4 separate regions of the Homo sapiens genome follow, and all the other regions are linked to region 2. The links are contacts of gene promoters, found by promoter capture Hi-C in human tissues and cell types (Jung and others, 2019). All regions are on one chromosome and are shown on one strand. Each heading gives the region's core, a stretch centred on a gene start or on the middle of the fragment in contact. The rest is flanking DNA. Distances are from core to core; before and after follow the strand shown. Region 1 overlaps STXBP4 (syntaxin binding protein 4). Region 2 holds the start of COX11 (cytochrome c oxidase copper chaperone COX11). Region 3 overlaps STXBP4 (syntaxin binding protein 4). Region 4 overlaps TOM1L1 (target of myb1 like 1 membrane trafficking protein).

Region 1 (4,186 bases), core at 283-2,782, 34 kb before region 2:
ATAATAGCATCATTTTTAAAACATTTAAATATTATGTGGATTTTAAAAATTCTAACCTATTTTACACTTTGGGATGATTTTTAGATAAGAACAGAAATAGAACTATCTAATTACATTTACTTTTGTTGAGGTTAACATTAAAATTTGTTTATATTTTTTGTATTAGCATCAGGTAACTGAAGAAATCTAGAAGTGATGGTTAATTTCTGATTTGTAACAATCTATAATTAGGTACTTATAATATGCAAATCACAATGTATATAAGTTATCTAGAGATAATTTAGAGGTGATTTTGCCTTTTTTCCACTCCCCAGAAATATCTTGCCTACTACATTTATGTAGAAGAAAATGAGACTGAGTTGATGCACTTTCTACTCTAGAAAAATGTTCCGTCTTAATTGTATTTTAATATTTACCTATAACTTACTTAAATATATTTTTCACTAACCTATTTTTCTATTACAAAATCTACCACTATTCTTATAGCGACTGGTATAAATTTACCTGAGTTTATTCATTGTTAACAAGATCTCTGCTCTAATCACACCTGACTCTTAGAATCATCTGACATCTAGCTCATCCTTAGTTCTATGCTTTTATTTGTGGTGCTTCCTTAACTTGAAACGATCTCCTGTGTTCAGTTATCAATTGATGTTTACCACTTTTTTCAAGATTTGGATAATGTCTGACTTTTGCCAAGAAATTTTTCTTAATTTCTGCATATTGTGACAGATTCCTTATTATATACTAGTTTTTGGGGTCAAGGGGAGGACATAAAATTGAATCAAGAATTGGAAGCTTTCCTTCTGCTCTATAAACATGACCTAGAATATTATCTGAGCTACACTCTAAGCTATAGGTTCCATATTATTAGTAACAGGAAAATTTAGTAAGCATATACTATGCACTAATTACAATATAAGTGCTTGACATGCAAGATCTTGTTTAATCCTCATAACAACTCCTTGTAACTTGTAACTATTTCAAGGTTACAGAGCTAATAAGATGAAAGCAAGAACCTGAACACTGAGTCTGTATTCAGAGCCTGGTGGTAACCACTGTGCCTTCCTTATACCATACTCATAGCACTCACTACTTCCTTCCTTAGGCCTCTTTGTTCATGTCTTTACATAATTTGTGTAAATGTGTTATTCATCCACAAGACAGAATGCTTTTTAGAGTAACAAAACCACCCATATCCTGCTCTGATTAACACAAAAAACTGCAAATAGTAGCTGCTTGATAAAATAAACATACACACACATCTATAAACAAATACATGCATATAAATTAGAATGTTTCCTAATTTCAATAATTATAATTTTTAGCCCCATGTTTTATTTCACAATATACTATTAAGTATCTCACAGAAAATATCCTAATTTCTTCATAATTCCCGTTGTACTGTATTCTACACATATAACATAGTAAAACCTTACTGAATAAAAGGTTAAAATAGGCATTGAATAGTTCAATTACTTTAAAAGTTAAAAACATGTTATATAATTATTAATATTTTATAATATCAAGGAATAAAGGGTTCTGACTTCCATCATCTAGCAATTTTGATGCTCATCTCATGACTGTTTCATTTGTCTTTTTCTTCTCATAAGGGTTCCCAGTTTAAAATAAATACAGTACATGCAGAGACTGGAAATTAATTATGTAAGAGGAATAATGCTATAAAGTTGGTCAATAAATCTAAGTAAAAGGTAATATAACTCATGGCTTAAGATTGCTATTAACCCACTGGTAAATACCACCCCAAATCGGAGGAAACTACTGTGGAATATAGTATAAACTCCTGTAAAGATTGGTAGCTATTGAGCCAGGCACGAGCGGTGGCTCACGCCTGTCATCCCAGCACTTTGGGAGGCCAAGGCAGGCAGATCACGAGGTCAGGAGATCGAGACCATCCTGGCTAACATGGTGAAACGCCATCTCTACTAAAAGTACAAAAAATTAGCCGGGCATGGTGGCAGGCGCCTGTAATCCCAGCTACTTGGGAGGCTGAGGCAGGAGAATGGCGTGAACCCAGGAGGCGGAACTTCGACAGAGCAAGAATCCATCTCAAAAAAAAGATTGGTAGCTATTTAATTTAAATTAATGCTTCCTTATTTTTCAGTTCTTATATAAATAATGCTATTAAAACAAAATTAAAATATACAGGTAAAAATTTACCTTATAATTAGGCATATATAATTAGTTTTTCAGTTATGTTTAGTCTTTTTATCATTGTTGTGTTTAACTTTTGGAGATAATTTCAGGGGGCTTTTTTTCTTCGTATTGATCCTGTAAGCACCTTATAGCCACATAAAAATCTTTATTTTACATTTGGCTTAGATAATTAACGCTTTATTGTTTTAAAAAGTCAGTAAATCATTTTATGGTAATTAAGAATCAATAATAATGAATTAACAATACTGACACCCTTTATAATTGATATCCATATGATTTCTTCCAAAAAAACAAGATACATTTCTTTTCTTAAGGTATGCTCCCTTCTATAATGTGTTTTCCGAAAGGTGTATTTAATATGCCTCATCAGTATTGCACTAAAAGGACATGGCAACCTAATCTTGATCTTTATAGAAGACTTTCCATTATTTGATTTAAACAATTCATTAATTATTACAGCTTCATAAACACTGTTATGACAATGCATCTTTTGAAACTTCAACTCTTTGTTCAGGGAAATATCTAATAAAAGTCATACTTTAACAGGGCCCAACGGAAAGACATTATTTTTACTTTTTCGTTCACTGAAGGAACAAAGACATAATTCACCCTTCTTCAAAGTCTTAAGTCACATTACACACTCCTCATTGAGAGAGAATTGAAATAAAAAACAGGAAATAGAAATTAAATGTGTATTTACCTGTATTAGACAAACCCACAGTACTGTTTTCTGAAGTAATTGGAATCTGTACTGTTTTGTTGTATCCAGTTTTTATCTGTGAAAGAAAATGAGGAACATGCAATGTCATTTACTAAAGTAGGTCACTTGAAGCCCATGTTAACATAAAAAGAATGGTTAAAGAGATTAAAGTAATTATCCCTCAAATATGAAACCTCTAAAATTTTGGTATATGCATCTTCAAACAAAGCAATTCAGAATTAAAGGTAACAATTGCTTTCAGCTCTACCACATCCAAGGATAACAAAATATAAGGCCACTCATCTTGTCTTTTAAAAGTATTATAGCTCCAAGTGACAAAGTATAAGGGGCTGACAGAAAATCTTATACTCTGTCTCTGTTCAGCATGTACCAGAGACTGAAGTTACCTTTGATGAATTTTATTCTACTGACTAAAAGCTTAAGTTTCCTATTTTACAGCTAACACAGATATAAATAATACACACTTTATTCTGTAACTGTAATTTGTTCAGATAATATAGCAGTTAGTAATTGAGTATGTTAATTCTGATATAGAAATTCCCCATTTTGTGTGATTCTACTTGGGTGAACTATAGCATGCACACATGAAGGAGCAATACCTTCTTAGATTGGATGCCTGGGATTAGCCTCACTGTGTGGGAAAGAAGCTAAGGAACAAAAAGGAAGATGGCCTCACTTCAGTCAAGCAGAGAACAGAAATGGCAAATAACTAAACCAACTGAAACCAAATATGACATTCTTAACATAGTTTTGAGTGATATCTAGGCATATCTTTGTGGAACCATTTTGTCATGCTGGTATTTTCTAACCAATCATGCTCCTGGACACAGGACATGCTGACTTAAAATATGTTTATTGAAAACACAGCATAAAAATTTTAAATAGAAAAAAATCTTTCAAAGAAATATTAATTTGTTAACAATTTTACTGAAATAATTCTATATGTACATAACCAATGTAAAAATGTATAGGGAATTTATGGAGTGCATATATAGAGAAATTTAAGATTACCTGACTTACCTCACAAGAAGATAAAATGTCATTATTTGTTTTGGGAGTGGATGAGGTCTTTGGGATTAGTATTTCAGGAGGAGAAGAAAAAAGACTTAATGTTGAGGCTTGAGGTCCATATTCTCCTGAAGCTTCTATAAGTGATGTACATGACAGATTTTCTGGCTGAATGTTGTCGGATTTTTGTCTTATGAATGCTATCTCCCAAGCAGATTCTAACCTAGTACTAAAAAGAAATCACTTTATGGATATGCTATGAATATAGTACAACTGAAA
Region 2 (4,040 bases), core at 1,054-3,553:
AACATGAACTGTCATTTCACATTATCATACTAAGATCAGATACAATGCATATTTTCTTTTATTAAAGTAGAAAGCTACAAAGACCAACACCACTTCATTGCTATCAATATCACTGTACATAAGAGTTTCATTTTGCAATTATTATACAAAAAATGAAATACTGGAGTCCAAGACAAAGACTGTATACTGACATATATTTATACTGCTACCTGGAGCTACAAAGAAGGGGTGCCTGGAGAAACAGAATGGTGAGTGGAAATGTACTGTTGGTATCAAGGATTTCAGTCTATGCTGTAAGAAAATTAAACTTTGAGAAATCTCATCCTAGAAGAGCTGAGAATCTGGTACAAGAACCAAGGTGCATGCAGATGAAAAAGATTTTCAAACACTGTCATCACACAATATGAATAAATTTGTAGAATCATGGAGACCTGAAATTTTTGAGACAGTATGCCAGAGTATAGAAAGAAGTCAGAAGGTATTTATATTTTATTGGTTCTGCAATTTTCTGGCCCTGTGACCACAAGTTAATCAATTACTCACTCAAGGTGACCATCATCACTCATGTGGACTACTGCAATTGCTTCCTAATTGTTCTACTTCCATTCCTCCCCCTACCTTTAATCCATTCTCCACAAAGTAATCAATATCTTTTCAAAAATGTGAGTCAGATCACATCACTTGTATGTGTCAAACATTCCAATAGCTTCCTATTACTTTTAGAATAAAATCCAAACCCTTGGACATGGCTTAAAAGGCTGGTATTACCAGGCCTTTGTTACCTGTTCTGACCCCATTTCCTACCACTTTCCACTCTGCTATGTTGGGAACACAGTGGCCTTCTTTCTGTTCTTCAATCATTCTATCTCTTTCCTTCCCCTGGGCCTTTGCTTGGCCTGGAATTGTTATTGAGTAGGTAGCTCCTTATCATCGTTCAGATCTAAACTCAAATGTCACCTCTTCAAAACGTCCTTACTTTACTACCGCTTCTCATGACTGTCAATCATACTATGTTATTACATTGTCTTCACTGCACTGATTGTTATCTGAAATTCCCTTATTTCGGTAACTGTTACTTGATTATTTTCTGAGTCCCTCAGCAGAAAGGACACTCCATCACTGAAGTGATCTCCCGACTTGTTCTGTGCTATAGTGCCAGCAGGTCGATTGGTGTCAGGCCCACAGTTGAGAGGGCAATAAATAAATAAAATGTCGAATGACTAGTTAAAATTTCTCAGGCCTCCAAGTTCCTCATCCACATAGTGGGGATAATTATACCTGCTCTGGCCATTAGAAATGGCCACGTAGCAAGTAGAAATACAGCCTAACTTTTAACTACATTCTTACTATGCCTCAGTCATCATGAAAGACGTTATATGAATATTATTCATTTACTGTTCTGATTTCCATTTTACAAGTAAGGACACCAGGTCTTAGAGGACAAGTAACTGACCTAAGGGCACAGGGCCATGGTGAGGACCCGGGTAAAAATCCAGAACCCCCTAACCTCAGAACCTGAGCTCTTAACTGCTATTTTATAGTTTCTAGAAAGATGCTTCCTTCTAACACAGTAAAATCCGCTATGCTGTCTGCCCCCCTCGAGTTCGTCCTGTGGGACAACTGAAGAAAGCTATTACATCCTCCCACGGGGTTCGTTTCTTTCAGTCTCTCCTTAAATGGCCCTCCTATCCTGGTCACTCTCTCCAGAACAAACTTCAGCGTGACAGCCTCCCTCCTGCTCCAGCTGTGGTGCTTTCCACTGGGCAAGTTGTAAGGGGCATCAGAGCAGGGGAAGCCGACTGCCCACGGGCTGAGAAAATGCAGGTGTCGTGGGTGCCCATGAGGGCTGCGGTTAACACAGCAAGGCTTCCTGAGAGAGGTGATACTTGAACTAAGTCCAGGGCAGTGAGCACAGGAGCCAGCGGCCAAGGGACCCCAGGAGAAAAGACCGCGGGAGAGCGTCGCCGGGGCTGCCGGGTCGAGACAAAGGCTGGTGGAGTTTAAATAAAGATCACAGGCGCAACCCCAAGTGATGGCAAGCTTGCACGCGGACGGGCGAAACGCATTTTCCTAAATGTTAAGAGACGTTCTGGCGAGAAGCGAAGTGGGAGTAACAGTCACAAAGCAAAACGCAAACTTACCCGTAATCTGGCAACCCGGCCTCCGTAGCCCGACTGCAAGCGCTGCCACCTGAGGAGCCTGGTAGCCAAGGCAGCGGCAGGCTCAACCCAGATCTCGCGAGACGGAGCACGCCTCGCGAGATTTGACCTCTCGTCCCTGAGAGGCGGGTGGGTGTTAGTTCAGAGGGTTATGGGAGGGCTCTGGCGTCCTGGATGGAGGTGCGTTCCTTTCTGTGGCTGGCGCTGGATCCACCCTGGGTCTCCAACCAGGGCTGCAGAGAGGGTAGAGCCGTTTCTTAGGCCAGAGTGGAGTGGGACAGGAGGTGCCGAGAGAGGACTGAGGTGGCTTGGGACATGGAAGCGCTGCAGCCTTCGAGCCCGGCATCCAGCATTGCAGCCGCCGCGGCGGCCTAAGAGCTCGAACCCTTTCACACGCGCGCAGGAGGAGGAGCGGCGGCGGCAGAACAAGACGACCCTCACTTACGTGGCCGCTGTCGCCGTGGGCATGCTGGGGGCGTCCTACGCTGCCGTACCCCTTTATCGGCTCTATTGCCAGGTAGGGGCCGGCGCCGCCCGCAGGGTGGCGCAGACGCGAGAGGTGGGGGTGCAAGACAAATCCCGGGACAAGCCCTCGCTCTGCGGGTCGTAGGTGGAAGAGGTTTCCGATATTATCTACCTAAGAGGAGAGAGGTTCAAAACAGTCACTTAACACCCAAAGTCACCAAAGAAATTGGTGACAAAACTGCAAGTAGCATCCAGTTCTTAGTGATTGTGCTTATACCATGCTGCAGAGTGAAACCCCTGATCTATGAACTGCACCTCGCCAAAAAAAAAAAAAAAGGTCCGCAGCCTCTAACCGGGTATCTAGCAGTCTGCCTTACCCTCCTGCGCACACACGCTTTTAAAATGTATTATTCATACATTCACTCTGCAAACCACATGTGGTTTATGTGCCAAGGGTAACTCTGGAAATTGGACTACTCGTGTTTCTTGGGCTTAAACTGGGATTAGCAGTTCCTCCGTACAAAGAGGCATGAATTAGGCCTTTGAGGCTCTCTCGCCCCACCCCTGTTAATATATAACTGTAATGTACTTAACCTGGAAACTGTTAAGTACATTGCAACGGTTCTGGGAGTGTGGCGCCCAGGACCGGCAGCATCAGCATCACCCGGGAACCTGTTAAAAGTGCAAATTCTAGGGCCCGACTCCAGGACTGAGTCAGAAACACGGGGTGGGGGGGTGGGGCGGGGAGAAGAAGGGGAGTGGGACCAGCACTCTATATTTTAGTTAAGTCCTGTAGTTGATTTTGAGGGCAAGTTTTGAGAACCACAGGCAAAGACAAGTTTCACGTATTTTAGAGATTTCTCCTTTGTTCTTAGCTAATAATTTGCAGCTTTGGCTGGCCATTAGGATCACCTATGGAGCTTAACGTTAAATACACGTTCCAGGGATCCCCTACCCCAGAGATTCTGGTTAGGAAGTCTAGGGTAGGGACAGGAATTTCGGTTTAAAAATCATGCCACAAGTGATTCAGTAAGTGTTTAAGATAGTGGCTCCCAAAATTCATTGTACAGCAACATTGGGAATCACCTGGACAGCTTCTAAAAATCCACACACATTACCCATTTTATCACAAGGCCACAGTGGGAACCAGGCATCAGTAATTGTCAAGTATGTTTTAGGTGATTCCAGCGTGCAGGAAAGTTTGGGAATTGTTTTTTTAACACCATGACTGGTATTCTTAGCTGGAGTTCACTCTTTCCGTGTGTGTGTGTGTGTGTGTGTGTGTGTGTGCGCGCGCGCGCACGTTTATTTATTTAAATTTGTAGAGACGAGGTCTCCCTATGTTGCTCAGGCTGGTCTCAACTCCTGGGCTCAAGTGACCCTCCTGCCTTGGCCTCCCAAAGTGCTGGGATTACA
Region 3 (4,275 bases), core at 1,484-3,983, 63 kb before region 2:
AGTTTGTCTAGCTAGCTAGTTATAGCACGTATCCTCCACATATCAAATTGTCAATACTGGTAAACTTAGGTGTGATAGTAGCACAAGAGGCTAGCGAGAGAGGAGAATGAATATCAGGATGAACTTTTACTTTTGATTTTAAATTGATTTGTATTTATATATTTATCCAAGAAACATGTATTATTTCTATTTTTAAGTGAAAAAAGCCTACACATATGACATATAACATTCAAGACTTGTGACTTATACATGTCAAAGCAATTCTATAGGGCATACTCTACCTGTGAATCTAATATATTGGAAATTTCATGTGCACCAACATTTACTTCATCCAACTGCAAGCAAAACAAGTTTCTGGCAACCTGGACAAAATCTAAAATGGAACACATTTAAGTAAGAACATGGCATTTAACCCCTTCTAAATCTTACTTTATTCTATATGAAGTTGCTAAGGTTTCAAATTTAACCCACATAAATTATCTTAAAATAGTATTGACTGAAGTGATAGGTAAATGTAATTTCAAATAAGAAGAGACAAATTGGTCTGAACTTACTTCAGTTAACTTTGCTAAAATTAATAATTCAGCTAAGATAATAATAAAGCAAATATATATCATGGACCTATAGTTTTTCAACCCTTGTATTATGAGTAGAACTTTTTCTGAAACATTTGACAATATTATGATTTATGGCTTTTCTAGCTGGAAGAACCTGAGGTTTGATAGCAATTATTAATAGCAGCAGATAATGTTTATGTAACCGCTGCTGTATGGCAGGCACAGTGCTTAGCAATTTCATCCTCCCAACAGTCTTCTGAGGTAGGTCCTCTTATCCTGTCCATTTTACAGATGAAAAAAATTGAGGCTGAGACAGGTTAAATGCCTTCAACTGTCCAAGGCCACGTGGCAAAGAGGAAAAAGAACAGTTCATAGGCTTCTTCTGACAAGGAGAGTAACTTACTCATCTATGTATCCTCAAATATTTTCCACTTTGGCTACTGTATTTTTAATTTCCAAGGATTCTTTTAAATATTCTCTGATTGTTCCTGTTTTACAATATCCTACTTTATTTCATGGTTGCATTACCTTCACTTTTCTCTTTAAAGATGTTATGAGAGTTTACCTGAATTTATTTATTTATTTTATTTTATTTATTTATTTATTTTTTGAGATGGAGTCTCACTCTGTCACCCAGGCTGGAGTGCAGTGGCACGATCTTGGCTCACTGCAACCTCCACTGCCCAGGTTCAAGCGATTCTCTTGCCTCAGCCTCCTGAGTAGCTGGGATTACAGGCGTGCACCACCATGCCCAGCTGATTTTTGTATTTTTAATAGAGACGGGGTTTCACCATATTGGCCAGGCTGGTCTTGAACTCCTCACCTCAGGTGACGCACCCACCTTGGCCTCCTAAAGTGCTGGGATTACAGGTGTGAGTCACTGCACCTGACCTCCTACCTGAAATTCTCTTCTGTGCTTCTTTATTTCTTTTTTTCTGAGTTCCTTTTTTCTGTTTGTCTGATAGTTTTGGGTTCTATATTTTATGTTGGAGGATTTCTCCAAATCTCTGGTGACTCTTGACTATGAGTTCATATTTAAGAATCGGGCACTAAAAAAGTTGGTTGGAAATTTTGTGTGTGTAACTTGCTTTGTCAACTGGCAGCTTTCACTACAGGGCAATCTGGTGGCCAGCTGACATTTCTGTTCAGCTTCTTCAGAGAGAATACCATAGTCTTCTGCCTATAGTAATAAACATGGCAGCAAAGTTCCCTGAGCAATCTGGGTGCATATTACGAGTGATGACTCACTATATACTCCACAAACTCCCTTGCAGCTGGCAACTATAGGTCCACGATCTCTGGTTTAATTTCTCAAAGGAATATACTTCTTTTCTCCTGGAGGTGTACGGTGGGAGATGCCGGACTACTTGAGAAAGAGCAGAGAAGAGCATGCATAATTCTCCTTATAAAGATTTCCAACAATCCTGTTTTAATATCCTGCCTAAAAACTCAGTCTCCAGAAGTACTTGATGTCTTCAATTCTTAAATCATTTTAGGGTCAAATCAACTTGTTCCTCATTGTGATTTTCCTCTATCTTCACACACTTGGGCTTTACCTGCCTCTGCTCACAAATTTACTTTCCTCACCCATTTTTCTGTCCTTAGATATTGTGATTTTACTTGTATGTGTTTTTCTGTTTCTTGTTTTCATTATTATTTTGGGATGATTTTCAAGTGGAGATGGGATGAAAAATATCTTTTTTTCATCACTTAAAAACCAAAAGGTCAATTTTTTTTCAGCAATACAGATGCTTTATAAATAATACAATGTTACATCTATTATACAAGAAAAAAATTACTTAATAGTGACAAGAAGACAAAAAGTGTTATATTCAAACATTACTGGTGGTGGAACGAATATATGTGCAAAATATCTCTGAAAAACAATTTACCAATATGTATCAAAAGTCCAAATCATTTGTGAGGATTTGGCTTAAGAAAGAAAAACAGCTACATTCATAATGTTGATAAATACAGATTTGTAATATCAGCTACTGAGAAACTATCAAAATTCACAATAGTAGAAAGGCTTAATATTATAGTACAATAACTAAGTGGTACATTATGGTATCTTTAATAAGAATAGAGTTGACCCCTGAACAACATAGGCTTGAACTACACAGGTTCACTTATACATCAAGTTTTTTCAACCAAATGCATAAAAAATACAGTATTTGCAGGTTGGAAAAGCCACATATGTGGAGGGTAAACTTTTACTATATGTGGGTTCTGCAAGGCTGTCTATGAGATTGAGTATGGCTGGATTTGGGTATATGCAGGGGTCCGGGAAACAATTCCCCTCCCATACCAAGGGATGACTCTAATTAGGTAGCATCATAAAAATATTTACTATATTATATTAGCTGAAAAAGGATTCGAATTAATCTCACAGTAGTGAAATTAGAACTTCCATATTTTGTACTGTTTCTTTTGTTATTACTAAAGCAATGTTTATGCAATAAATAAAAAATAAAAAGAATATGACAGAATGATGATATTTTAGAGCTGAAAGGTCCTAATGAAATTCTTCTTTCTGCTGACCCTGCCAGGTCAGTAATTCTAGCTGAGTTCTTTGGGTACTGATTAAGGACCTTGAAATGGATGTAGTTTTACTTTTCATTCTCTCCTTCTAAAGAACAAACACTCTTAATGAAAATGTGTCACCATAACTCTTGAATGATGATTCAGTGATAATACAACACAATAAACCTAATATTACCTCCAAAAGACACTGTCCCTTTTGAGTCTGCTTGTACTTGCTGTCTCAGGGCTTGGTGTTGTTCCTTTGTGGGCTGAATACCAAGATAATTTAGAGCCTGGAAGATAAAGGACTCATGAAAAGCAATTTTTCAAATCTCCAAAGAATAAAACTTTTCATTACAAACTTTACAACCCAGGGAAAATAATCAATACCAGAAACAGTCGACCAGGATTAAACACCCAAGGGAAGTCAGCTCTTTATGGATTAAGTGCCTATTGAAGATTAGCTTCCTGATTTTACTACTACCTCATTTTTTCCCCAAGACTAGCACTTTAGCTAATACCAAATTTATGACATTGTCCTAGAACCAAAAATCAAACTATTTCTTAGTTTATATGATTTGGCACATGTAAAATGGCAAAAGAATCCTACTACATCAGATTTACAAGTGACACTCTAAAACATGAATTATATTTGGTTAACATCTTGCCTTTGAGAGCAGAACTGAAGTTGATAGGAATTAGGTTCAACATAAAATCTTCTAATTTTTGGCTTGTTAGGGGCAGGCTTACACAAATAGTAAACTAAAAAGCTTTCTCTGCCACTTACTTCTCTCTTTCATCAGGCTCTTCCCCTTAAGGGAAAAGTTCTTTCTCGTTTTGGTATCCATTAGTGATTAAAAATTCAGAGACTGTTAATTGTATTCCAATGTCCATTCTCTCCTTGCTCCTTAGTAACCGAACCAACCACAATTTTCGGCTGAAAACACTGCCATGCAGCTAAAAGACATTTCCCAGCCCCTTGTACATCTCCATGCGGCCATGTAACTAACTAGGTACTAGCCAATGAGATACAAGGGGAAGTGCCATAGAGTACTATTAGGAAGTCTCCTTTCAAAAGTCGGGGTAAGCACTTCTTGTCCATGCGGATTAGTAAGGGGAAAGAAAGAGGAAGAAAAAAGATGAAAGGAAGGAAGGAAAGAAAGAGGAACTGATGGAATTTGAGCAGTTCTTTTGG
Region 4 (4,293 bases), core at 211-2,710, 45 kb after region 2:
AAGCATAAAAACACATCTTTAGAGTAATGAAAATAGTATGATGCCAAGTTAGGCACAAATAGGTCAAGGGACGAGAATAGCCTCGAGAATAGCCTCTAGAAGACAACCCTGAATTAGAATATACCGTATGTGATAAAGGGGCATTTAAAACCATTGGAGAAGGCGTGAATTGTTAATGGATGTTATTTGGACAACCAGCCATCAAATTGAAAAAATAAATGAAGGTAAAGTCCCCATCTCATACCAAGAATACAGATTTGAATTTTAAGTCACATAAAATCCAGGGGAAGAAAGCTATTGATTCATTAAGCCTGTTTACTGAATGATTACATCATGTTAGGCACTAATCTGGGAGCCAGAACCTGGTAATGAACAAGACAAGCCTTTTGGCATTTCCATTCTAGTAGGCAAAGACAGCTGACGACCATGCAAGAAAAGCGTCAGACACTGTGAGTGCCAGGTGAATAAATGGTGATGTGATAGGACGGTGGCTAATTTTAGACTGGGGAGTCACAGAAGACTTCTCAGGAGAGTAACATGCTAAGATCAGAATGATAAGAAAGAGTTCGAGATCAGCCTGGACAACATAGTGAAACCCCATCTCTACCAAAAATACAAAAAATAGCTGGGCATGGTGGCGGGCACCTGTAGTCCCAGCTACTCGGGAGGCTGAGGCAGGAGAATCACTTGAACATGGGAGGCGGAGGTTGCAGTGAGCAGAGATCGTGCCACTGCACTCCAGCCTGAGTGACAGAGTCAGACTCTATCTCAAAAAAAAAAAAAAGAAAAAAGAAAAGAAAAGAAAAAGAAAAAGCTGGCCATTTGAAGACAGGGAAGCATAAGAGTCAGGGATGAAACAACTCCCCAGCAAGAATGAACTCAGTGCACTCAAGGAATAGGAAGGAGGTTAGCAAGCACGTGCCACGGAAACAGAAGTAGGCTAAAGACGACCGAGAAGGGCTCTGTGGCCAGACTAGAGAGGTCTAGTTTTACTCCAACTATAATGGGAAGCCAATGGAGGGTTTCCAGCAAGGAACAACACGATCTGGTTTACATTTTATTTTATTTATTTTATTTTATTTTTTGACAAGTAGTATCGCCAGGCTGGAGTACGGTGGTGCAATCTTAGCTCACTGCAACCTCCACCTCCCAGGTTCAAGCTCCCAGGCAGCTCACTGCCTCAACCTCCTGAGTAGCTGGGATTACAGGCACCTGCCACCATGCCTGGCTAATTACCTTTTAAAAAGCTATAATACAACTTTGGGAGGCCAAGGCAGGTAGATCACCTGAGGTCAGAAGTTTGAGACCAGCCTGGCCAACATGGTGAAACCCTGTATCTACTAAAAATACAAAAATTAGCCAGGCATGGTGGCAGGCACCTATAGTCTCAGCTACTCCGGAGGCTGAGACAGGAGAATTGCTCAAATCCAGGAGGCAGAGGTTGCAGTGAGCCGAGATCGCGCCACTGCACTCCAGCCTGGGTGACAGAGCAAGACTCCATCTCAAAAAAATAAATAAATAAAATAATTAATTTAAAAAATAAAAAACTATAATACAGACACTCAAATTCATTAGTCATTAGGAAAATGCAAATACAAATCAAAATCAAAACCATAATGAGATACCACTTCACACCTACCAGCGGGCCATTAAAAAAAACACAATGGAAAATAACAAGTATTCATTGTGGAGAATCTGGAATCCTAGTAGTACTGCATACCGCTAACAGAATATACAATGGTGCAGCCATTGTGCAAAACATTTTGACAATTCCTCAAAAAGTTAAAGTTACTATACGACCCAGCAATTCTACTCTTAGGTTGATACTCAAAAGAAGTGAACACAGGTATTCAAAGAAAAACCTGTATGTGAATGTTCATAGCAGCATTAGTCACAATAGCCAAAGGTGGAAACAACCTAAATGTCTATTAATGAACTGATATATAAAACGTGGGATATACAATGAAATATTAGGCCATTAAAGTAATAAAATTCTGATACATGCTACAACATGGATGAACCTCAAAAACACTAAGTGAAAGATGCTAAACACAAAAAGTCATATATTATGTGATTCCACCTATATGAAATGTCCAGAACAGGTAAATCCACAGACACAGAACCAGATTGGTGGTTATCTGGAACTGATGAAAGGCAGAAAGGAGAGGCTGCTTAATGAGCATGGGGTTTCCTTTTGGGGTAATGAAAATGTATTGGAATTAAATAGAGGAAATACTGTTGAACCTTGAACAACATGGGTTTGAACTGCATGGCTCCACTGAGAGGTGGATTGTTTTCTGACTCTGCCACCCAAGACAGAAAGATCAATTTCTCTTCTTCTTCCTTCTCAGCCCATTCAGCAAAAAGATAAAGATCAAGACCTTTATGACCCACGTCCACTTAATGAATAGTAAATATATGTTCTCTTCCTTATAATTTTCTTAAAGAAATTTTTCTTTTTTAATTTTTAAACTGAGACAGGGTCTCACTCTGTTGCCCAACAATGGTGCAATCACGGTTTACTGCAGCCTCGACCTCCCAGGTTCAAGCGATCCTCCCACCTCAGCCTCCCCAGTAGCTGGGACCACAGGCATGTACCACCATGCCTGGCTAATTTATTTTTTGTAGCAACAGAGTCTCACTATGTTGCCCAGGCTGGTCTCAAACTTCTGGATGCAAGCAATCCTCCTGCCTCAGCTTCCCAGAGTGCTAGGATTACAGGTGTAAGCCACTGTGCCTAGCCTTCCTTACAATTTTCTTTTTTTGTTTATTTTTTTGAGACAGCCTCGCTCTGTTGCCCAGGCTGGAGTGCAGTGGCTTGATCTCGGCTCACTGCAAGCTCCGCCTCCTGGGTTCACACCATTCTACTGCCTCAGCCTCCCAAGTAGTTGGGACTACAGGCGCCCACCACCATACCTGGCTAATTTTTTGTATTTTTTAGTAGAGATGGGGTTTCACTGTATTAGCCAGGATGGTCTCCACCTCCTGACCTCATGATCCGCCTGCCTCGGCCTCCCAAAGTGCTGGGATTACAGGCATAAGCCACTGTGCCCAGCCTACAATTTTCTTAATAACATTTTCTTTTCTCTAGCTTACTTTAAGAATACAGCACATAACATATATAACATACATAATATGTGTGAATCGACTGTTTATGTTATTGATAGGGTTTCTGGTCAACAGTAGGCTATTAGTAGCTAAGTTTTGGGAAAATCAAAAGTTATACATGAATTTTCAACTACACTGTGGGGTCAGTGCTCATAACTGCTATGTGTTGTTCAAGGGTTAACTGTAGTTACAATGAATGTATATTTATTTTATTTTATTTTTATTTTTTGAGATGGAGTCTCCCTCTGTTACCGAGGCTGGAGTGCAGTGGCACAATCTCTGCTCACTGCAACCTCCGGGTTCAAGCCATTCTCGTGCCTCAGTCTCCTGAGTAGCTGGGATTATAGGCGCCCACCACCATGTCCGGTTAATTTTGTATTTTTAGTAGAGACAAAGTTTCACATGTTGGCCAGGCTGGTCTCGAGCTCCTGACCTCAAGTGATCCACCCGCCTTGGCCTCTCAAAGTGCTGGGATTACAGATGTGAGCCACCACGCCGGGCCCTGAATGTATATAAATGCCACTTAATTGTACCCTTTAAAATGGTTAATTTTATGTGATAATTTAAAATAATGGTTAATTTTTTGCCTCAATTTAAAAAATGCTATATAGAATTTGTATTTTTTGCACAGCACTGTACTCAATATCCTGAAAACCTTTCTCATAACAAAATACCTAAAAATGCTAGATATTAAAAATATTTTAACATTTGTGCCTACACTTTCAAGAAAGCATGAGAAATCCTCAAAGGCTCAAAACCAAATAAGATCTAAAGACTCAAGCAGCAATAAAGAAACAATGGTTCACAAGGCACCCATCTGCCAATCTCCAGTAGAGTTCTCAGCAGACGCAAAGGACAAAGCCCGGGGTGCAAACAAGATGGGGAGCTGGAGCAAAAACCCCTTCTATACTCAGGTGGAACCCCTGCATGACTACGCCCTATGAAAGTCAGTGAATCAGAAAAACCTCAGCCCCACAAAGCGAGATGGCAAGCCAAATCATGTCAGCGTCGGTTCTTGGTGGAGAGAGTGAAAATACATAATTTTCCTGAGAAATCTAACAGCCTTACTACATCCTCCTCTCTAGGGATGAGGCTGCCTGCCTTCAAAGTTTAAAAAATCCTAATGAGTGCTGATTATTTTTCTTCTAACTGCAGAGATTCCTAGATTCTTTTGGAAACCAGCAG

The links. The method cuts DNA at HindIII sites, captures the fragments that hold promoters and counts their contacts. A contact is called where the count stands out against the background at its distance.
Region 1: a contact is called between a fragment that was not itself captured here and the fragment with the promoter of COX11 in region 2, in 1 of the 25 tissues and cell types used here (spleen).
Region 3: a fragment that was not itself captured here is called in contact with the fragment with the promoter of COX11 in region 2 in 1 of the 25 tissues and cell types used here (stomach).
Region 4: a contact is called between a fragment that was not itself captured here and the fragment with the promoter of COX11 in region 2, in 1 of the 25 tissues and cell types used here (pancreas).

Annotation. Positions count from the first base shown.
Region 1 is chr17:54,999,576-55,003,761 of GRCh38, reverse strand. STXBP4 (syntaxin binding protein 4) reads right to left here. Exons shown (of 18, transcript NM_178509.6): 6 at 3,920-4,130; 7 at 2,879-2,954. Among named protein-coding and RNA genes, the nearest start is that of STXBP4, 33 kb to the right of the region's middle. The HindIII fragment of the contact is 4,295 bases long and covers 1-3,679 here.
Region 2 is chr17:54,966,917-54,970,956 of GRCh38, reverse strand. It overlaps COX11 (cytochrome c oxidase copper chaperone COX11), which reads left to right and starts at 2,303. Exons shown (of 4, transcript NM_004375.5): 1 at 2,303-2,676. The coding sequence starts at 2,311. It overlaps STXBP4 (syntaxin binding protein 4), which reads right to left and starts at 2,192. Exons shown (of 18, transcript NM_178509.6): 1 at 2,142-2,192. RefSeq lists enhancers at 1,875-1,924, 2,005-2,104, 1,335-2,283, 2,285-2,364, 2,375-2,434 and 1 more. The HindIII fragment of the contact is 12,807 bases long and covers 373-4,040 here.
Region 3 is chr17:55,030,266-55,034,540 of GRCh38, reverse strand. STXBP4 (syntaxin binding protein 4) reads right to left here. Exons shown (of 18, transcript NM_178509.6): 9 at 3,277-3,373; 10 at 282-373. Among named protein-coding and RNA genes, the nearest start is that of STXBP4, 64 kb to the right of the region's middle. The HindIII fragment of the contact is 6,265 bases long and covers 1-4,275 here.
Region 4 is chr17:54,920,775-54,925,067 of GRCh38, reverse strand. All of the region lies in intron 7 of TOM1L1 (target of myb1 like 1 membrane trafficking protein), which reads right to left. LOC124904032 (a long non-coding RNA gene) reads left to right here and starts at 3,912. Exons shown (of 2, transcript XR_007065853.1): 1 at 3,912-4,293. RefSeq lists an enhancer at 3,994-4,053. The HindIII fragment of the contact is 5,476 bases long and covers 1-4,198 here.